2 separate regions of the Homo sapiens genome follow, and region 2 is linked to region 1. Evidence: promoter capture Hi-C in human tissues and cell types (Jung and others, 2019). All regions are on one chromosome and are shown on one strand. The core of a region is centred on a gene start or on the middle of the fragment in contact, and the rest is flanking DNA. Distances in the headings are between cores, read along the strand shown.

Region 1 (3,509 bases), core at 310-2,809:
GAAAAAATGACCAGGCTGCAGGCTGCATGGATACTTGCTTTAAAACTGCATAGTAGGCTCCCATATGTGTTATCAAGGCTGGACATAAACCAGAAGGAGCAATTTCTCTGAACAAGCCGCCTTGGCAGGCTTCCTTCCACAAACCCACTTCGGAGACAAGTTTTCTGTTCTCTGTTGAAAAGAATTCTACAACAGGTCTGCACAATCTTTACTTTTTGATACGAGCAAGGTTTACTTTAGCCTTCAGCATCACTTAACATTAAATAAAAAATTTTAGCTTAATGAAATCTCCCTCGTCTTCTCAAGAGCACTGTGAGGACTCCTCATCTGTGGCATCTAACAGGTGGTTGGATTAAGAATTACCAACTCTCCTTTCTGGTCTCAGAGGCTCTGGAAAAGCACTGCTGGTTACTGAATCGGATCCGGGGATCCCACCCTCAAAGCGCCCTGGGGTCCCCCAGAGCTCCTGGGGGACAGGACATGGTTTTCTCGGGGGATGGGAAGTACCGGCGGGTGGAGGCTGGAATCGAAATAGGAAAGGGAGCTGGAAGCGGCGCCCAGAGCTGGGCGAGCAGGGGAAGGGGACCCAGCGTTTGCGCGGTCCCCGGCGGGGCGGACTGCAGGCAGGCGTCTTTGGAACCACGGCGGCTCCACTTACGCAGGACGCGGACGGTCTGCCGGTGGCCTCTCTCCCGCCCCGAGGCGGCCGGGCCTCGCAGCGGCCGCCGGCTGCTCCACAGCTCCCGCCCGATGAGCCCGTAGAGGATGCTGAGGCACAGAAAGGGCAGGAAGAAGTAGGCGGTGGTGACCCACAGCATGACACGCAGCGCGCCCAGCTGCGCGGGGCTCGGCCGGCATTCGCGGCTGAACAGCGCCGCGGCCTCCGCGGTCTCGGGCCCCGACGGCGGGGACGGCGGTGGCGCCCGCGAGAGCCAGAGAGGCGGCGACGAGGCGAGAGGCGAGGAGGCGATCCGCGCGGTGCCATTGAGGCCCGGGACTACGGAGATGCCGGGGTCCTGCTCGACGCCCACCAGGAACAAGAAGGGACCGGCAGAGAGCAGCGCCACGGCCCAGAGCACAGCGATGAGCGCGCGGACGCGGCGCCGGGTGACCAAGACGCGGGCGCGGAGCGGGCGGCAGATGGCCAGGTAGCGCTCGACGCTGAGCGCGGTCATGTGCAGCAGCGTGGCGTAGGTGCAGCCCTCGCCCACGTAGAGGGACAGGCGGCAGAGCAGCGGCCCGAACACCCAGGGCCGCGAGCGCCAGAGGCGGTACAGGTCGAACGGCAGCCCGAGCAGGATGAGTAGGTCGGACACGGCCATGCTGCCCAGGTACAAGTTGGTGGTGGTCCGCATGTCCCGGTAGCGCCCGATCAGCATCACGGTCACCACGTTGCCGCTCACCCCGACGACGAACAGGCACAGGCACACAGCGGTCACCGGCACCAGCGCCCCCAGGGGAAAGGGCGAGCAGCGGCGCTCGTCGCAAGGCGGCAGCGCGGGCCACGGCGGCTCCCGCGCCCCCTCGGGGCCGTCGCTGCCGTTCCAGGGGCTGCCCATGGGTGCTCCGCGCGGCCGCCGCGTCCCGGGTCGGGCTGGGAGCCTGGCGCGTGGTCCCTCTCGGTGAGCGCCTCCTTTCCCAGCCCGCACGCTGCGGGCGCGGCAGGTCAGACGGCGGAGCGCTGCGCTGCGCTGCGGGGCGCGAGAAGCGGCTCTGCGGGGTGGGCTCCGAGGCGCTCCCGAGCTAGCTGCGCGCAGTCTCCGCCCACGGCCGCGGCCCGCCCCGGCCCGGCCCTGCTCCGCTCCCGCGCCCTCTCCCGGGCCCATGCAGTTCCAGGGCGCTTCCCTCTCCACTAACTGGAATACCCGGCGCCCTTAGCGCACGAGCCCTACCCGGTCCGGTGAGCGATGTCTGCACCCTAGACAGCTTTGGTTACAGGACTGAGCACTGTACGGGCGCTTTTGTCAGTCTGGTACTCCGGGCACCTTCGAAGGGATCTGGTCTGGTGGCTGGTAGCTGCCGCTTGACGGTGGAGGAGGGCTCATGGTAATCCTCAGGAAGCCATAATGCTAAATAATAGGAGGGGAGTCTAGACCAGAATCTAGAGCCTCTCCTGTCTAATCCTGGCTCTACAACCGAGTAACTTGTGTAATCTTGGGCTAGTCCTGGTCTCGCCCAGCCCAGTTCTCCTCTTCTGTAAATTCGCGAGTGGTGGAGGGAGCTGACCATATAATTGACCAAATAATTTCTTTTTTTTCTTTTTTTCTTTCTTTCTTTCTTTTTTTCTTCTTGAGACAGGGTCTCACTGTCGTCCAGGCTGGAGTTTAAGTGGCGCGATCACAGCTCACTGCAGCCTCGACCTCCCAGGCTCAAGCAGTCCTCCCACCTCAGCCTCCTGAGTAGCTGGGAGCACAGGAGCGCCCAAGCCCCGGCTAAATTTTGTGTTTTTTGTGTAGTCAGGGTTTCGCCATGTTGGCCAGCCTGGTCTCGAACTCCTGACCCCAGGTGGTCCACCCGCCTCGACCTCCCAAAGTGCTGGGATTACAGGCGTGAGCCACCGCGCCCGGCAGTGACCAGATAATTTCAAGGATCCGTGAGCATGTTTACTTATTATAAAGAACAAGACAAATATTTACGTGGACACTAGAGTACTTTCACATGTGATATGTCATTCTTATGTACAACATGTTTTATAAACTTAAAAAACTAGAGGATTTGTCAACACCGGAAAGAACGAAAATTGGGGAAAGGGGCTAAAACGGATGTTCAGTCTGTTCGGTGTGGTCTTAATAACAATAGCTAACACTTACTGAGAATTTAGATGGATCTGGCCCTGTGCTCTCCATTTAATCCTCATGGCCCGGGGCGCTCCTTTCGCCCATGAACAAAGCGGTCTTGCTTGAGATCAAGCAGGCAGTAAGAGGCGGGACTGGGATATGGGCTCTGGTCGGCCTAATCCCAGAGCTTGCAAGCCTGACGTCCTACTCACTGCCCAGCTCCACCCCCTCAGTGGCTTAAATCCTCAACCTCTTCTCTGGAGTCTCGATTCTGGACCTGACACCTGGCTTTGCCTAGGGCAAGCTTCTCCTGCAGTTCTCTCTCACATGCAGACTGTGAGCTTGGAGGAGGGACACCTGTCGCCTCCCTCATCGCTGCTGTTTCCAGCGGTCCTAAAACCGCCCTCCCTAGCGCTTTCCTCCGTGGTCACCCGTAGTCCCTGAGGGACAGGTGCCTGCGCTCTCTTTGAAGCACTGCATCTGCGGCCGTTCACACCCATGCCGAGTCTTGGAATGCCTTGGCCTCTAGTTTGTTGACCTCCTTTCCACCTATGACCTTGCTCTCCACCCGATCTCAGCCGCGCCTGTCGACGGAACTTACACCTCACGGTTGCCTGCCAGCCTTCCTCCACCTCCACTTCAGTCAGCCCTCTTTCTGACCTCCGCCCGCTCTCTTTTTAGCTCTCTTCCCCTAGCACCTCAGTTCCGGTAATCCTTCAACCCACTGCGACC
Region 2 (3,509 bases), core at 633-3,132, 480 kb after region 1:
ATTCTTCATGGATATTACATTTTCATCTTTGTTTTTCTGAATTCTGACATAGTTGTCTCTGTTGCATCATGGGAAAGGTGAGAACTTAAAACAAAAATTCTTACTATTTGAGTTCAGTTTTATCTTCGCAAACATTACAAGACATAAAATGACCTTTGCTGATACTGGCTCCTGTGGCTCAATGCCGCATGGAAGGGACCACAATATATTTAACTGGGAGACATGCCCTACTGACTTTGCAGTTGGAAAAATGGTAAATAATCAAATTCTCTCTTTGTCTTTGTTCACCATCATGATTTTCTGGCAGCAAGGAGAAGTACTCTGAGATGGTTAAGAAGAACATATTAACACAGTGGGTGTGATAGGTGAACAGATTGGGATGAGCACACTTTCTATGATTGAATTTCTTTCTAAGTTGTTGGATAATTTTAAATTTATGTGTATCACCTTTCCATAGTTGAGTGGGAAACTGGGATCTCATATAGGGTCTTTTTGGTTAAAGGATTTGTGGGTTTCCTGCTTAAGAGATCACAAGCCTCTATTCCTCCCCTGAGCTGTTACTGGCCCTGGGTGTTCCTTGGCAATACTATGAAGTAGGGGAAGACCATCTGGGATATCCCCGCTACATCCCTTTCACAGACCCTTCACCCTCTTCTGGGCTCCCTTCTCTGTGGAGTATCTGGCTGCCCAGAGTCCTGTGCTGTCAAACCTCACCCTTGGCAGCTCTCACTTGTTTCCCTTCTTGTTGCCCTGGGGCAGGGGGAAAGATAAAATGTGCAGCATTGCTTTCGGTACCTAGATCCATTTCAAATCATTTGTTTTTTGTACCTGGTCCCATTTAAAAAGTTACAGATATATCTCTATACTTATCACCTATATCAATGACTTAAAATTACTTTATTCGATTTTTCAAGTAAAACGTGTACAAGATTTGTATACTGAAAACTACAAAATGCTGATGAAAGAAATCAAAGAAGCTCTAAATAAATGGAAAGACTTACATATTCACAGATTGGAAGACTCAACATAATAAAGATGTCAGTTTTCCCCGTACAGATTTATAGATTTAATGCAGTTTCTATCAAAATCCCAGTGAGAATTTTTTTATAGTTATAGACTAGTTTATTCTAAAATTCATATGGAAAGACAAATGAATTAGCATAGCTAAAACAATTTTGAAAAAGAATAAATTGGAAGGAATCACTCTACTTTATTTTAAGACCATGTACACTACAGTAATCTTGACAGTGTGGTGTAGGTGAAGGAATAGAAACAAACATAGATCAATGGAACAGAATAAAGCTTCAAGAAATAAACTCGCATAAATATGCTCAACTTATTTTTTATTGTTCTAAGTAAAGTACATATAACATAAAATTTACTATATAAACCATTTTTAAATGTACAGTTTAGCAGTATTAAATACATTCATAATGTACAAATATCACCACCATTCATCTCCATAACTATTTTCATAGTATAAAACTGGAACCCTATACCCATTAAATAATTAATAATTATTTAATAATAATTAGTTATTAAATAATAACTCCCTCCCCTCAGTCTGTAGCATCCACCCTTTTACTTTCTGTCTCTATGATTTTGACTACTCATATTCCTTCATATAAGTTGAATCATATAGTACTTGTATTTTTGTGACTGACTTATTTCACTGAACATAAGGTTCATCCATGTTATAGCATATTGGAGAATTTCTTTCCTTTTAAAGGGCAATATTCCATTGGATAGTGTTTTAGTCAAATTTATGCTACTATCACAAAATATCACAGACTAGGTAAATTATAATGAACTGAAATTTATTTGACGTACAGTTATGGAGGCTGGGAAGTCCCAGAACATGGCACTGGCATTTGGTGAAGGCCTTTGTGTTGTGTCATTCCATCACAGAAGGCAGAAAAACAAGAGAGAGTGAGAGTGAGGGAAAGAGGGCTCATACTTTACCTGGGAACCCTAATTGGATGATCATGCGATTACTCAATTGGTTATTGGATAATCCTGCAATACGCCAATCCTTATTATAACAGCATAAATCTATTTATGATGGCTGGCAGAGTCTTCATGACCTAATCATCTCTTTAAAAGTCCCACCTTTCAACACCGTTGCATTGGGGATTAAATTCCCAACACATGAACTTTGGGGGGCACAGTCAAACCATAGCATGTGGGTATACCACATTTTGCTTTTCCATTCATTCATTGATGTACATTTGGGTTACTTCAACATTTTAGCTACTGTAAATAATGCTGCTATGAGAATGGGTGTACAAATACCTCTTTGAGACCCTGCTTTCAGTTCTTTTTGGTATATACCAAGAAGTGGAATTGCTAGATCATACGGCAATCCTATTTTTCACTTTTTGAGGAAATACTATACTGTTTTTCACAGCGGCTGTGCCATTTTATATTCCCACAAACAGTGCACAAGTGTTCCTATTTTTCCACGTCTTCACCAATCCTTGCTATTTTTGATATTTTTGATAGGAGTCATCCTAATGTGTGTGAGGTGGTATCTTATTGTAGTTTGATTTGCATCTCATATTGACCATTTTTACATGTACTTTGGTGAAATGTCTATTCAAGTCCTTTGCCCAGTTTTGAATCAGTCTGTGTTATTGTTGCTGAGTTTTAGGAGTTCTCTATATATTCTGGATTTTTATCTCTTGTAAGCTATGTGATTTCCAAATGCTTTCTCCCATTCTGTGGTGTATTAAGCCGTTCTTGTATTGCTATAAAGAAATACCTGAGGTTGTGTAATTTATAAGGTAAAGAGGTTTAATTGGCTCATAGTTCTGCAGGCTGTACAGGAAGCATGACATCGGCAACTGGTCAGCTTCTGGGGAGGTTTCAGGAAGCTTACAATCATGGCAGAAGGTGACGGGGGAGCAGACAGTCACATGGTGAGAGTGGAAGCAAGAGGTGGGGAGGGGGGAGGTGCCACACACTTAAACAACCAGATCTCATAATTGCTTGCTATCTTGACGACACCTCCAAACCATAAAGGATCTGTCCCCATGACCCAAACACCCATCCCCGTCTCCAACAGGGGATTATAATTAGACATGAGATTTAGAGGGGACAACATCAAAACTGTATCATGTAGGCTGCCTATTTATTCTGTTAGTAGTGTCTTTTGATGCACAAATTAACTGATTTTTGACAGATCCAAAAGCAATTCAATGGAGGAAGAATAATCTTTTCAGCAAATGGTACTGAAGTAGTTACACCCATAGGCCAATAAAAAGAACTTTAAAATAAACCTCACGTTTTTAAATGAAAAAATAACTCAGAATGAATTTATATACTTAAATATAAAGCACAAAGTTATAAAAAATTCAAAAGAAAACATAGGAGAAAATCTTCAGGACCTAGGGTTAGTGAAAAGTTCTTAAATGTGATATGAAAAACCATGATTTATGGAAGAAAATCAATAAGTTGGACATCATCAAAATGAAAAACTTTTGCTCTACAATGAACTTTATTAAAAAGAT

The links. The method cuts DNA at HindIII sites, captures the fragments that hold promoters and counts their contacts. A contact is called where the count stands out against the background at its distance.
Region 2: a contact is called between a fragment that was not itself captured here and the fragment with the promoter of MLNR in region 1, in 2 of the 25 tissues and cell types used here (IMR-90 fibroblasts and dorsolateral prefrontal cortex).

Annotation. Positions count from the first base shown.
Region 1 is chr13:49,218,388-49,221,896 of GRCh38, reverse strand. MLNR (motilin receptor) reads right to left here and starts at 1,559. Exons shown (of 2, transcript NM_001507.1): 1 at 659-1,559. The coding sequence starts at 1,559. RefSeq lists silencers at 1,527-1,606, 1,677-1,936, 1,873-2,129. The HindIII fragment of the contact is 10,157 bases long and covers 1-3,509 here.
Region 2 is chr13:48,743,010-48,746,518 of GRCh38, reverse strand. No RefSeq gene overlaps it. Among named protein-coding and RNA genes, the nearest start is that of CYSLTR2, 91 kb to the right of the region's middle. The HindIII fragment of the contact is 6,090 bases long and covers 1-3,509 here.